Regions from separate parts of the Homo sapiens genome. Here regions 1, 3 and 4 are each linked to region 2. Evidence: promoter capture Hi-C in 16 types of primary human blood cells and fetal thymus (Javierre and others, 2016). All regions are on one chromosome and are shown on one strand. Each heading gives the region's core, a stretch centred on a gene start or on the middle of the fragment in contact. The rest is flanking DNA. Distances are from core to core; before and after follow the strand shown.

Evidence for each region. The method cuts DNA at HindIII sites, captures the fragments that hold promoters and counts their contacts. A CHiCAGO score of 5 or more calls a contact.
Region 1: a fragment that was not itself captured here is called in contact with the fragment with the promoter of EIF2B3 in region 2 in 7 of 17 cell types (naive CD4 T cells, total B cells, naive CD8 T cells and 4 more); the score reaches 7.4 in naive CD4 T cells.
Region 3: a fragment that was not itself captured here is called in contact with the fragment with the promoter of EIF2B3 in region 2 in 2 of 17 cell types (activated CD4 T cells and non-activated CD4 T cells); the score reaches 6.6 in activated CD4 T cells.
Region 4: a fragment that was not itself captured here is called in contact with the fragment with the promoter of EIF2B3 in region 2 in 1 of 17 cell types (M1 macrophages); the score reaches 6.1 in M1 macrophages.

Annotation. Positions count from the first base shown.
Region 1 is chr1:44,721,962-44,725,583 of GRCh38, forward strand. It overlaps ARMH1 (armadillo like helical domain containing 1), which reads left to right. Exons shown (of 12, transcript NM_001145636.2): 7 at 2,161-2,283; 8 at 2,359-2,431; 9 at 2,578-2,707; 10 at 2,801-2,878; 11 at 3,175-3,256; 12 at 3,330-3,622. The coding sequence ends at 3,442. It overlaps LOC105378690 (a long non-coding RNA gene), which reads right to left and starts at 2,158. Exons shown (of 5, transcript XR_007066059.1): 1 at 2,074-2,158; 2 at 1-78. RefSeq lists a silencer at 1,476-1,770. The HindIII fragment of the contact is 4,387 bases long and covers 22-3,622 here.
Region 2 is chr1:44,985,131-44,988,735 of GRCh38, forward strand. It overlaps EIF2B3 (eukaryotic translation initiation factor 2B subunit gamma), which reads right to left and starts at 1,465. Exons shown (of 12, transcript NM_020365.5): 1 at 1,363-1,465. It also overlaps the pseudogene PPIAP35. RefSeq lists enhancers at 1,239-1,508, 1,467-2,048, 1,759-1,808 and a silencer at 1,599-1,688. The HindIII fragment of the contact is 3,433 bases long and covers 679-3,605 here.
Region 3 is chr1:44,703,569-44,707,378 of GRCh38, forward strand. ARMH1 (armadillo like helical domain containing 1) reads left to right here. Exons shown (of 12, transcript NM_001145636.2): 6 at 521-605. LOC105378690 (a long non-coding RNA gene) reads right to left here. Exons shown (of 5, transcript XR_007066059.1): 3 at 3,743-3,810. Among named protein-coding and RNA genes, the nearest start is that of RNU5F-1, 16 kb to the right of the region's middle. The HindIII fragment of the contact is 2,648 bases long and covers 665-3,312 here.
Region 4 is chr1:45,272,065-45,275,607 of GRCh38, forward strand. No RefSeq gene overlaps it. Among named protein-coding and RNA genes, the nearest start is that of LINC01144, 30 kb to the right of the region's middle. The HindIII fragment of the contact is 2,244 bases long and covers 721-2,964 here.

The DNA of each region.
Region 1 (3,622 bases), core at 965-3,464, 260 kb before region 2:
GCCTTTGGACCTGCAGACAGAAGCTTTTCTTCCACTGTAGAAAAGTGTCCTAAACATGTTCTCACTGGGTAAAATCTCCTGACAAAGAAAAAAAGTTTAAATATTATTATTCAAACAGATAACCCTGGTAATAATTCTCGTATCTACAATGCATTCTGGGATGCAAATGAGCTGAGCGCCGGAACAAGAGTTCCTCTAAACCCTCTCTCTCTTACCAGTAAATGGAGAGAGGCACTTGACTACTGAGCTGGGGAGAGCACATGGCCAAGTCCTGTCTTCCATGTAGCCACATGTGTTCAGAGTAGCAGTGCCCGGTGCACAGTGACTCACACCTGTAATCCCTGCACTTAAGGAGGCAGAGGTAGGAGGATCGCTTGAGCCCAGGAGTTCAAGACCAGCCTGGACGACAGAGTAAGACCTTGTCTCAGAAAAAAAATAAAATTTAAATTTAAAAAAAAGTCCAGGCGTGGTGGCTCATGCCTGTAATCCCAGCACTTTGGGAGGCCGAGGCAGGAGTTCTCGGTCACTTTGGGAGCACTTTGGGAGGCCTGAGCACTTTGGGAGGCCTGAGGTCAGGAGTTCAAGACCAGCCTTGCCAACATGGTGAAACCCTGTCTCTACTAAATACAAAAATCAGCCGGGCGTGGTGGCAGACGCCTGTAATCCCAGCTTCCCAGGAGGCTGAGGCAGGAGTATCGCTTGAACCCGGGAGGCAGAGGTTGCAGTGAGCGATTGCACTCCAGCCTGAGTGATGACAGTGAAACTCCGTCTCAAAAAAACAAACAAACAAAAATACTAGCATTTACTGGCTGGGCCCACCGGGCCCAGTGGCTCATGCCTGCTATCCCAGCACTTTGGGAGGCCGAGGCGCGTGGATCACGAGGTCAGAAGTTCAAGACCAGCCTGGCCAAGATGGTGAAACCCCATCTCTACTAAAAATACAAAAAAAAAAAAAAAAAAAAATTAGCCGGGTGTGGTGGCGGGCGCCTGTAATCCCAGCCTACTCGGGAGGCTGAGGCAGGAGAATTGCTTGAACCCAGGAGGCGGAGGTTGCAGTGAGCCGAGATCGCGCCACTGCACTCCAGCCTGGGCGACAGAGTGAGGCTCTGTCTCAAAAAAAAAAAAAAGGTAGCATTTATGCTGGTGTGCCATCATCTTAGCATCTCCTTCTCCTCCTGCCCCCTCTAGCTCTGTGGTTCCTTTCTCTTCTTTACAAAAACATTCAATCCTTGCCGATTTTCTCTTGTGCTCCCACAGCCCAATCACTGACTCCTTCCACAGCACCTGTCACCATATCATCGCTGCCTGTTTGTGCACGCTTAAGGAGGGTTGGTCGAATGAATGAATTCAGTCTGTATCCTCAACACCCAATGCCGCGCCTGGCACCATAGGCGTTCACATGCAGCCGTGCCGAAAGACTGAGTGAATGCTGGACTGAATGAATGACTGCCTGTAAAATATCTACAGGAAAGCCCTGCAGGAAATGCCCTCCATAAATTCTAGTCCCCTTCTCCTTCCTAACCAAATCCTCCCCTCCTTCTGCTTCCATCACTTCCTAGCTGTGTAACTTAGGCAAAGTGGTTTACCTCTCTGTGTCTAATTTCGGCAAAGGTAAAATGGGGAAGTGAACCTCATCTGGTTCTGGTGAGCTTCCACGGGTGCTGTATGGAAAGCCTGGCACCCTGCCTGGTGGAGAGGGCTCGATGATGGTTAGAAGGAGAGTTTCTCTAAACTGCCGCCTACCTTCCTTCCCCTTTCTCATTTCCTGCCACAAGTCTCCCACCCACTTTCTCTGTCTCCCTCTCACCCCTTGTCTTTCTCCATCTTGTCTTCCCGTAAAGACCCAGCCCTTCCCTCCTCCATGAAACCTGGATTCCTCCAAGGCGAAGGCCCCCCTCTCTGGGGTCTCAGCCTCCAGCGCTGACATCCTAGGCCGCCTCGACAGGTGGGCTCACCATCCAACCCTTCCTCCTCCCCCTTCAGCCCCCTCCTCCTGCTCTTCAACTGAGGTTCGCCTTCCCAGCTCCCCCACGCCCTGCACAGTGCTGATCAGTAAAAGAGGAGGACACTGACGAGTGGCGACTTGGTTCACGGGGTTCTTTGCTTCCTCGGTGGCGGAGGGGCCTGGGGCCTCTCTCCAGCACCTCTGCCCTTCCGCAGCCATCGAGTTGATCAAAGACCTGGTCGGTTACGATGTGCGCCAGGCGCTGCTCAAGGGCCTCGTGGCGCTGCTGATACCGTCGGTCAAGGAGATCTCCAAACTGCAGGCCAAGATCCTCAGTGGTAAGGACCTGCTCAAATGGGGCTGCCTGGGCCACGGGAGGGCGGTCTCTTGCCTCACGGCTGCCCCCTCCTCAGACCCCTCGGTTCTCCAGCTCACCCCCAGCCTGCCGATGTTTTTGCAGCAGGCCGCGGCCGCCAAGGCCATCGGGTAAGCGGGCAGGGGTTAGTGGGTAGCTGCAGCAAGCCTGGCTTGGCGCTGCCGGCGGGCCCCGGGAGCGCTCCGTGCGCCGGGTGGGCGGGGGTGTGCGCCGGGTGAGCCCCAGGGCGTCGCCCCAGCCCGAACCCCCGGCCCAGGGTCCTGGCGCGCAACGACATGAGCATCGCCGAGGAGCTGCTGTACCTGCGCGTGGTGCGTGGCCTAATGGCCGCCATGGGCAACACGGACCACAGCAACAGCCAGCGGCTGGCCAGCCTCACGCTGGAGGTGCGCGCGGCGGCTGGTTAGGGGGCGGGAAGGGCGGCGGCACCCGCAGCCCCGTCGCCCCCGCAGTCACGCCGCCTCGCCCGCGCGGCGCAGTGCTTCGTGCAGATGTTCCCCTTGGTGGCGGAGCACGTGCGCAAGTGCATGGGGGAGGAACTCTACCAGCTCTTCCTGGTAAGTGCGCCCTTCCTGCCCCGCCGCAATGAGCAGATGGCGGCTCGGACAGTGTGATGCCCCTTCAGACAGTCCCCATCCTGGAGCGCGCCACATGCAGAGTGGACCTGGCCACCAGCTGCAGGAGGGACTGCTCTGGCGTAGGCTCCTCCACCCGCCACCTTCCTGTTCCCTTTCCTGCCCTTTCGGTCAGGCTGCCGACCCGCCCCCCACCTGCAACATCCCTCTGCCAAGCCCAACTCCAAGTCCAGACTGCCCTGGCACCCCAGCCGGGTCCCCCTTGCTCCTGTCCTCAGAGCAACGCTGAGGACTTGTACATGAAAATAGACAGCATTCAGGCGGACATCTTGGCGGCCAACACAGTCAATGTTACCAAAGGTGAGTGTGGGACGAGGGAAGCCGGGCGCAGGCGCCGCCAGCACAGCCTCACGCCCGCCTTTCCTGCCTGCAGCCCTGTGCCTCCATGGCAGCTCCTACAGCATGAACACTCTCTATGGCTCGCGCGATTCGGCTCAGATGGCCTACCTCACACACTTCGAGGAGGATGTAGAATCAAAGGAGTAACAGCCCCTGTGGCAAACCAGGAAGGCCAAGGCTGCGGGGCAGGGAAGCCTGGCAAGAGGAAGGCGCCTGGGGTCAAGCTCAGAGCCACTCCACTTGGCTCCAGGGGGGAGACGGGGATTAGGCATCCCAGAGGGGCAGAGGAAGAGCCGCTGGCTGCGAAGAGTCAATAAACAGCCTTGA
Region 2 (3,605 bases), core at 215-2,714:
CTATATTTGTATTTGCTTTACTAGACAGAGACTAGATTATGGAAAACCTTCGTACTAATTGAGCCATGCTGCTTCATAATTCTGGTCTCTGCACTGCTACTGTTGCTTCCTAGTCTGCCTTTCTCTTGTGTCTAGTAATCACCTATTAAACTTTGAAGACAGCTCAAGAATCCTCTTGCCTACAAAGCCATTCCTAACCGTTCCCACCCCTCCAGAAGTGACTCCTTTTCCCGAAGTGCTTCCATTCTGCCATGTGCAGATTCTCTTAGCCTTTACGGGTTTCATTGCACGTATGTGTTTAAATGTCTACTTAAGTGTAACATTAATGTCTCTTAAATGTCTACATAAGAGTGTAAGAGTGACTTTCTTGGACTGTGTGTGCATCATCACTGTATTCCCAGTCAGATGCCAGAAATCAAAGTGGAATGAGGACCTGTGAACTTCACAACTGTATAAGAGTCAAACTCAAACATGTGCATAAGGGCATTAGAACCCAGGTCACTAGGAACTGAGGTTCCAGCTCTCAAGGAGGCCCTGGGTGAAGAAAGGCAACCTAGGAAGCATGAATAGTAATCATGAACATAACTAATCATGCTACCAGGCAGACTGTCAAATGCTCATGTCACTGCCACGACTATGGCTGACGGGAATCATGGCAACGAGTCTCGCTGCCTCCCAAGCTTTGGAGAGGGTGTTCACCGCATCTCAGACTTGCCTGCATCATAGCACTCATGCCTTTTCCAGTTGTAAATAGATAAGAAAACTGTATCAGAATTGGTCTGTCATTCCACGTGTGCTGCCTGAAGGCAGAGACCTCACTGCTCCTCCCTATATTTCACTGCCCTGCATCCAAACAACTAAAGGCAGGCTGAACAAATGAATGAAGGGCTGAGGCTGAAAGAGTGCAGGCACAGTGCTAAAGGCGTCTGGTACCGGTCTGGTGCTCGCTCACTCGCTGTGACTTTAAGCAGAACCCTCCCCGAAACTTCGTTTCTTTCTTTTCTTTTCTTTTTTTTTTTTTTTTTGAAACGGAGAGTCTCACTATGTTGCCCAGGCTGGAGTGCAGTGGCGCGAATTAGGCTCACTGCAACCTCCACCTCCTGGGTTCAAACGATTCTCCTGCCTCAGACTCTCGAGTAGCTGAGATTAGAAACTTAGTTCCTCCATCTGTTGCATAAGGTGGTTGGCTCGGATTCTCATCCCCAACCTCCCTTCTACTTCGGACACAGCTACACCGGGTCGAGCAGGGAGTCGAGCTGACAACTTCGGGGCTCAGCACCCTCTCCTACCCCTTCGGGTCCACCTCGGCCCAGTTCGACATGCCCGCCTCCCTCAGATGAGTGGCCCCACCGCACTGCTCACCCGGGTCAGCCAGCTTGTGTGCGGCCTGGCAGGGCAGAAGTCACAGCTATAACTCAGCTCCCGGCACGCCGCAACCGCTCCCAGCGATCTCCACGCCGCCTCTGACTGACAGCCCAATGGCGCAGGCGCGCGATGGCCGAGAAACTCGATGGAACGCGCAGAGCAGACCCATGGAGAAGAGAAGACCGCCGAGCGATGGATGACGGAGGGGAAGCACACTCAGCGGAGAGGAGGGAAGGCGGGCCGGAGGGGGCGGGGCCACCGAGGAGCATTCGACACGTGTGTCCCTCTGTCCATTAACACATTACCAACGCCTTTTGAGTATTCCTCCCAGTGCAGGGTGCCGGGAACCCAGACGGAACAACTCAGCCTCTTTCCTCAGGGAGTAAGTCTAAGACCTGGCTTCGAGTACATTCGGTGAAAGAAAGCTCATTGGGAGCCGCAATTTTGGCTAGCTAGTGAAAAAAATCACCGAATGCCCCTGCAGGGGTTGCCAGGACTTCCTATTTGTTTTTGTTGTTGTTGTTGTTGTTGTTTGTTTTTTGTTTTTTTTGAGACGGAGTCTCGCTCTGCGTCGCCCAGGCTGGAGTGCAGTGGCGCGATCTCGGCTCACTGCAAGCTCGGCCTCCCGGGTTCACGCCATTTTCCTCCCTCAGCCTCCCGAGGAGCTGGGACTACAGGCGCCTGCCACCATGCCCGGCTAATTTTTTTGTATTTTTAGTAGAGACGGGGGTTTCACTGTGTTAGCCAGGATGGTCTCGATCTCCTGACCTCGTGATCCGCCCGCCTCGGCCTCCCAAAGTGCTGGGATTACAGGCGTGAGCCACCGCGCCCGGCCCGGGACTTCCTATTTGTAACAGGGCCACTCACGTTAACTTTAGCCATCAAAACTGGGGGCGGCTGGGCATGGTGGCTCATGCCTGTAATCTCCGCAATTTGGGAAGCCGAGGTGGGAGGATTGCTTGAAACCGGGCGTTCAAGACCAGCCTGTGCGAGAGAGCCTCCAGTCTCTACAAAAGTAAAAATTAGCTGGGCATGGTAGTGTGTGCCTGTAGTCCCAGCTGCTCAGGAGGCTGAAACGGGAGGATCGCTTGAGCCCAGGAGTTCGAGGCTGCAGTGAGCTATGATCGGGCCACTGCACTCCTCCTGCCTAGACGACAGAGTGAGACCCTGTTTTTTTTTTTTAATTTAGTTTTTATTTCATAATCATAAACTTAACTCAGCAATCCAGTTAGGCATGGAAAGGAACAAGGAAAACATGGAACCCAAAGGGAACTGCAGCAAGAGCACAAAGATAAGATACTGCGAGCAGGCCGGGCGTGGTGGCTCACGTCTGTAATCCTAGCACTTTGGGAGGCCGAGGCAGGCAGATTGCCTGAGCTCAGGAGTTCAAGATCAGCCTGGGCAACATGGTGAAACCCCGTCTCTACTAAAATACAAAAAAAAAAAAAAAAAGAAAGAAAGAAAGAAAGAAAAAATTAGCCAGGCATGGCGGCGTGCGCCTGTAGTCCCAGCTACTCGGGAGGCTGAGGAAAGAGAATTGCTTGAACCCGGGAAGTGGAGGTTGCAGTGAGCCGAGATCGTGCCACTGCACTTCAGCCTGGGAGAGGGCGACAGGGTGAGACAGCGTCTCAAAAAAAAAAAAAAAAAAAAATACTGCAAGCAAATGGGGTGAAGGGGTGCTCTTCTGAGCTACAAAAGGAATGGTCTGGTGGTTAAGATAAAACAAAAGCCAAACTTGTTAGAGTTGTCCACAGTCAGCAATGGTGATCTTCTTGCTGGTCTTGCCATTCTCGGACCCAAAGTGCCCCATGGCCTCCACAATATTCATGCCTTCTTTCACCTTGCCAAAGACCACAGGATTGCCATCCAGCCACTCAGTCTTGGCAGTGCAGATGAAACACTGGGAACCATTTGTGTTGGGTCCAGCATTTGCCATGGACAAGATGCCAGGATGTGTATGCTTTAGGACGAAGCTCTCGTCATCAAATTTCTCCCCGCAGGTGTACTTGCCACCAGTGCCATTATGGCATGTGAAGTCACCACCCTGACACATAAACCCTGGAATAATTCTGTGAAAGCAGGAACCTTTATAACCAAATCCTTTCTCTACATTGCTCAGAGCACGAAAGTTTTCTGCTGCCTTTGGAACCTTGTCTGCAAACGGCTCGAAGGACACGCGGCCCAAGGGCTTGCCGTCGACAGCGATGTCGAACACGGTGGGGTTAACCATGGCTGATCGT
Region 3 (3,810 bases), core at 739-3,238, 280 kb before region 2:
AAAAAAAAAAATTAGCTGGGCATGGTGGCGGGCACCTGTAATCCCAGCTACTCAGAGGCTGAAGCAGAAGAATCGTTTGAGCCCAGGAGGCGGAGGTTGCAGTGAGCCGAGATCGCGCCACTGCACTCCAGCCTGGGTGACAGAGTGGGAATACATCTTTTTCTTTTTTCTTTTCTTTTTTTTGAGACGGCTCTGTTTCCCAGGCTGGAGTGCAGTGGCGCGATCTCGGCTCACTGCAAGCTCTGCCTCCCGGGTTCACGCCATTCTCCTGCCTCAGCCTCAGGAGTAGCTGGGACTACAGGCGCCTGGCACCACGCCCAGCTAATTTTTTGCATTTTTAGTAGAGACAGTGTTTCACTTTGTTAGCCAGGATGGTCTGGATCTCCTGACCTCGTGATCTGCCCACCTCGGCCTCCTAAAGTGCTGGGATTACAGGCGTGAGCCACCGCACCCGGCCGGGAATCCATCTTTAAAAAAAAAAAAAAGACTAACCACCTTGTCCTGTTGTCTGTCTGGTCAGCCAATCATTGGGACCACACACCCCAGCATCGTGGACTGCGTGCTGAAGGTGCTGGGCACGATGCACCTGGAAGTCCAGTATGAAGGTAGGGAGCCTCCAGATTGCAGAAGGGGGCACCGAGAGCCAGACATATCAGCTCTCAAAAGCTTTCTCTTAGTCACAAAGAGCCTTGATGTTGAGTGTCTGAGACAGCCTTGGCAGATGGAAGATGCTGGTTCAGAAAATGTCAGTCACACCTATGCCTTGCGTCAACCACAGGGTGCCTAGGGTGCCTGAACGGTTACGAGAATCTGCCTGGGTCCAGAGCTGGCTCTGGCTCCCAGTCTTATGTGATGCTTCCTGGCTAAACAGAAATCACCCTGAGGAATGTCCTTCTTCTAAGAAACTAAACTGAATAGTCGTAGTATTTGGTTGGTTGTTTTTGCTGGGTTTTTTTTTTTTGAGGCAGGGTCTTGCTTTGCTGCTCAGGCTGGAGTGCAGTGGTACCATCATAGCTCACTGTGGCCTCAAACTCCTGGGCTCAAGATATTCTCCCTCCTCAACCTCCCAAGTAGCTAGGACCACAAGTGTGCACTACTACATCCATCTAACTTTTTAATTTTTTGCAGAAACGAGGTCTCACTATGTTGCCCAGGCTGGTCTTGAACTCCAGGCCTCAAGCGATCCTCTCACCTCAGCCACCCAAAGTGCTGGGATTACAGGCATGAGCCACTGCACCCGGCCAGGAGCTTTTATTTATTGAGAACTTTTTTTTTTTTTTTTTTGAGACGGAATCTCGCTCTGTCATCCAGGCTGGAGTGCAGTGGCGCAATCTCAGCTCACTGCAAGCTCTGCCTCCCGGGTTCACACCATTCTCCTGCCTCAGCCTCCCAAGTAGCTGGGACTACAGGCGCCTGTCACCATGCCCGGCTAATTTTTTATATTTTTTAGTGGAGACGAGGTTTCGCTGCGTTAGCCAGGATGGTCTCGATCTCCTGACCTCGTGATCCACCCGCCTCGGCCTCCCAAAGTGCTGGGATTACAGGCATGAGCCACCGCACCCGGCCTATTTATTGAGAACTTCTATGTGCCAGCCACTTTCCATACATCACCTCATTTACTTCTCAAAATAACCATAAGAGGCCAGGCATGGTGGCTCACGCCTGTAATTCCACCATTTTGGGAGGCCGAGGCAGGCGGATCACCTGAGGCCAGGAGTTTGAGACCAGCCCGGCCAACACAGCAAAACCCCGTCTCTACTAAGAATACAAAAAAATTAGCCAGGGGTAGTGGCATGTGCCCATAATCCCAGCTACTTGAGTGGCTGAGGCATGAAAATCACTTGAACCTAGGAGGCGGAGGTTGCATTGAGCCGAGATCTCGCCACTGCACTCCAGCCTGGGTGACAGAGCAAGATTCTGTCTCAAAAAAAAAACAACAAAACAACAGCAATAACAACAAAATAACCATAAGAGTACAAACCCTGGTACATATTAGGTATTCAAATGTTTCCATGAATGAATGGTAAAGATACGTATTTTTATGTTTTTCAAGATACAACAATAAAGCACAGAGAGATTAAGTATGCTTCCCAAGGTTACACAGCTATTGGATTCTAGCCAGATCTGCCTGACTCTAAAGTTTATGCTTTTAACATATAGCGCATGGCAGATATTTAAACGATATAATTTCCTTCCCTTTCCCTATAGTGGTTCAGAGGAAGGAGATTCTATTTTCAACAGGAGGAGATTAAGGAAGGGTTCACCGAGACGGTGGTGTTTGAACTGAGCCGTGGAGAATAGGGAGGATTTGGGAAGGTCGAAAGGAGGAGAGGAGTTCGTTCTGGAAAGGGGAATGGTAGAAAGGAAGGCAGACAGGGAAGTACAAGGTGTGTCCTGGGAATAATGGGTAGGTCATTTAGAGAAGGGATGGTAAAGGTCTATGTCTAGGAAAGGTAGGCTAGGAGCAATGGAGGGGCACCTTGAATGCCATGTAGGTAGGTGGCAGTCTCTCCAGTATGCAGCATGGAGCCGCTGAAAAGTGAGCTGTGCACAGGTGAGGGCTGAGCAAGTGCAGTGCCTCCGAAGATGGCCTGGGTGGTGCTATGCCAGGTGGGCCAGAGCCACAGGGAACCACTTGAGGCTGGAGGCCAATTAGGAGGAATTTGGGGTGGTTCAAATGACAAAATAAGAATGTGCTGGCCCAGCTGGGTACATAGCCCCAGGAAGAGAGCATGGACAGCACAGGGGACTGCCTGGTGAGGAGAATGAAGCAGCTTATGGATGTCAGAGTAGGCAGGGCCCAGGAGACCAGGACAGACAGCCCCAGTAAGCAGGAATGGTCTGGGCATCAGTATAGGGATAGGGACTCCTGTGTCCAGGATGACAGGCTGAGCCCCAGGTTCAGGAAGCCCGGGGAGGAGAGCATAAGGAGCAGCCAGGCACTGAGGTTCACGTACGCAAGTGAGATCCTGGGGAAGATCAACAAAGCTCTGGAGGCCACTTCCAACCTAGGTTATTTTTGAGCAGCAGTGCTTAAACTGAATGTCAGGCATGTTATTCCTTCAGCAACATTGTCGGTTTTGTATTTTTTGACCCCTGCAAGGTCTGTGTGCATATGTGGGCCTTGTATGTTGAGAAATAATGCTATGCTAAAATCTGTTAGCAGCTGGAGCAGAGTGTCCTGGCTGGAGAGGAGTTGCCAGTGAAGGGGTAGAGTGGTACAGGGACCTAAGTAATAGTCAGACCCTGCACCAGAGGGTTGTCACTGGCATTGGAGCAAGGGGATGACCTGGTAGTAGAATCATGTTAGGAAGCTTAATCAAACAATCCCAAAGACTAGATTGGGTAGCACTGACACCTTCCTCTCCCCACCTCACCTCTGTGTGGCAAACTTGCCCACTCCTCCTCATCCGTCCATCACTTCTCAGCTTAAGCATTGACTCCCTAAGCCCTTCCCTGACCCTGCCTTCAACCCCTGCCCAAATGTCAGCCCTTCTTCCTTTGAACCACCCCTGCCCCCACCTCCCCTCCTTTAACCCCCCTCCATCAGAGCACTGTTCTCTCAAATGGTACCTTCCCCTTACATAGACTGTGTGCAATTTCAGCTCAGCCATCATGGCTTTTATCCTTATATCCTCAGCACAGTCCCCAGCATGTTAGGTCCTCATTGCATGTTTGCTGAGTGAGTGAGTGAGTGAGTGAGTGAGTACTGCACATATGCACTGCATTAGTGATTACTCACCTCTATGCCTTTCTCCTCCAGACCTCTGAGCAACTCCAGGGAGGGACTGGGTCTGATTCATCTTTTTC
Region 4 (3,543 bases), core at 593-3,092, 290 kb after region 2:
ACCCTCAATGTTGGACTTCACAGCCTCCAGAACTTTAAGAAATAAATTTCTGTTCTTTTAAAATTACCCAGTCTGGGCTGGGCATGGTATCTCACACCTGTAATCCCAGCACTTTGGGAGGCTGAGGCTGGCAGATTGCTTGAACCCAAGAGTTTAAGACCAGCCTGGGCAACATGGCAAAATTCCATCTCTACAAAAAATACAAAAATCAGCCAGGTATGGTGGCATGCACCTGTGGATCCAGCTACTCGGGAGGCTCAGGTGGGAGGATCACTTGAGCCCAGGAGGTTGAGGCTGCAGTGAGCTGTGATCATGCCACTGTATTCCAGCCTGGGCAACAGAGTGAGACTCTGTCTCAAATAAAATAAAATAAAATAAAATAAATAAAATAAAATAAAATAAAATAAAATAAAATAAAATAAAATAACCCAGTCTGTGGTATTCTGGGATAACAACACAAAATGCATGAAGGTAATGCCAACCAAAAGAAAACAAAAAATTGTTCATGAATATGCTGATTTGTTCATTCAGTATTAATTGCAAAATATTTTATGGTTAGTTATCCATTGCTACATAACAAATTATCCCAGAACTTAGAGACTTAAGACAACAACAATCATTTATTATCTCTCACAGGATATAACTTGGTGTGGTGGTTCTGGCTGAGAATCCCTTGTGAGGTTACAGTTCAGATGTCAACCAGAACTGCAGCTATCTGAAAGCTTGACTGGGGCTGGAGAATCCACTTTCAAGGTAGCTTTCTCCCATCACTAGCAAGTGGTTGCTGGCTGTTTGTGGGAGGCCTCAATTCCTCTCCAGGTATCAACTAGAGAGGAATTGAGGCCTCCCACAGAATCTAGCTAATTCTTAGCGAGAGCCACCATACCAAGTTATATCTTATGAGAAAGAATAAATGATTATTGTTGTTTTAAGCCTCTAAGTTCTGGGGAAATTTGTTATGTAGCAATAGATGACTAATAATAAAATAGTTTTGCAATGAATGCTGAATGAATGAATTAGCATATTTATGAACAATTTTTTGTTTGTTTTCTTTTGGTTTGTCATTGTCTTAATCCATTTTGCGTTGCTATGACAGAATACCACAGGGGCGTTCTGGTTTTCCTCAGTGACCTCACAGCATGGTATGGCTTCCCCTGAATGAGTGATCCAAGAGTGAGAAAAATGCAGGGAGGAAGCTGTATCTTCTTTAACCCAGCCTCAGAAGTCACACACAGTCACTTCCACCACAGTCTATTTGTTAGAAGGAAGTCACTAAGTCTGGCCTTACATTCACGAGGAGGAAAAATAGACATCTGCCTTTGAAAAAAAGTGTTGGGCCAGGCACGGTGGGTGGCTCACGCCTGTAATCTTAGCACTTTAGGAGGCTGAGGCGGATGGATAATGAGGTCAGGAGTTCAAGACCAGCCTGGCCAACATAGTGAAACCTCATCTCTACTAAAAATACAAAAAACAAAAACAAAAACAAAAAACAATTAGCCAGACATGGTGGCAGGCACCTGTAATCCCAGCTACTTGGGAAGCTGAGAAAAGGAGAATTGCCTGAACTCAGGAGGCAGAGGCTACAGTGAGCCGAGATGGCACCATTGCACTCCAACCCTGGGAGACAGTGTAAGACTCTGTCTCAAAAAAAAAAAAAAAGTGTTAAAACATTTGTAGACTTTTTTTTTTTTTTTTTTTTTGAGACAGGGTCTCAGTCTGTTGCCTGGGCTGGAGTGCAGTATGGCACAATACAAAAATTAGCCAGGCATGGTAGCGTGTGTCATGAGGCTCACTGCTGCCTCAACTTCCTGGGCTCAAGTGATTCTCCTAACTCAGCCTTTTGGGTAGCTGGGACTACAAGCATGTACCACCATACCTGGCTAATTTTTGTATTTTTGGTAAAGATGAGGGTCTTGCTATGTTGCCTAAGCTGGTCTTGAACTCCTGGGCTCAAGCAATCCTCCTGCCTTGGCCTCCCAAAGTGCTGGGATTACAAGCGTGGGCCACTGTGCCTGGCCTGTGGACATTTTTTAACTACCACAACTATTTTGTGTAAGTACTGGGATAAATGCTGGGAGACCCGGTATATAAAACAGGCATGGTCCCTCTGAAACTTACAGACAAGAAAGAGGAGAGAGGCTTTAATCAAATGAACACACAAATAAATGTAAAATTACAACTGTGATAAGTTCTTGAAGGAATGATACACAATGTGATGAGAGAGAATGGTGGGGGATCTAGGGTATATCCAAAGAAGTGATGTTTTAGTCAAGATCCGAAGGAAGACTAAGGGCATCCCAGGCAGAGAGCATGTGCCTCCTATGGTAGGGAAGAACGTGGCATGATGGAGGGTCTAAAAGGAGGCTATTGGGTCTGCAGCAGAGTGCAATGAAGACTGGAGAGGGAGGCAGGGACCCCCCACAAACTGGGCCCTGGGTCTGAGTGACCATGTGACCCTGGGACAGATGCTCTGGGCCACCTAACCCCCTCTTTTTATATTGCACCCACATATGAAGCTGCAGGAGTCCAGTACCCTGTTGTTACCAAATCACTACAGGAAGACTCTCAGCCACACCTGGCCTGTGTGTACCTCTTTCACCAAGGAATGCTTAAGATAAATTCCACCCAAAGGTGTCACCTTACCTTTCTAACTCTCCTTGTAACTCTCTACCTGTTCTATACATCCTCTCAACTGACCCAGCCTCCTTCTTTGTTTTGGTCCCCAATCATTCTTCTGTATCTTCTTGAACTTCCACTCTAAGACCTACAAACTCCCTCAGATACCTACATCCCCAAGGTTTTCTTAGAGTGGAACCTGCACTTCTATCTAAACAAAAATCTGGAGATGATTCTGGGCAGTTGGCAGAGTAGGAAGAACCAAGAATATATCTCCCCACCTAGACAACAATTGCACTGTCAGATTCTGTCTGATGTAACAGTTTTGGAAATCCAGAGTCTATTGAAAGCTTGCAACTTCCAGGGGAAGACTTGGTGATAAATTGTAGTTAATTTCAGTAAATTTCAACTGTTACCACAGGAGCAGCTACCCATCTCCCACCAACAAGGAGAATGATATGATGTGTTCCTGGAGCAACCTGCACATAGCTTGTGGGAGCCAGGATGGCTCTGTTCTCCAAATATCAGGGATCTGTGCTCTGATTGCTGATTACTGCTTCTGGTAACAGAAGTGCAGAGAGTCAAAGGGCCATTGTTGTTGCACCTCCCTCCATTGCCACAAGTCCCTCCTCTATAGTTGAAGTGACTTCCTGGGGATTTAAAGGCCCAGGATCCTTTTCTTCTCTCTTTCATTTTTTCCCCTTTTGGGAGCCAGACACTGAAGACTAGGACATTAAAAAACAATTGCATATAAAGTGGTTTTTGTATGTTAAAATATATAAATTAAAATTTAAAAGTATACATGCCTAGGAAAAGGTGCAGTTTCAGAAAAGACCTGAGAAGACCTTAAGTTTTCATCTCAGGCTGATCTTTGGCACAAACACTGCATATAAAATTTAAAAAATAAATAAATAAACAAAAACAATC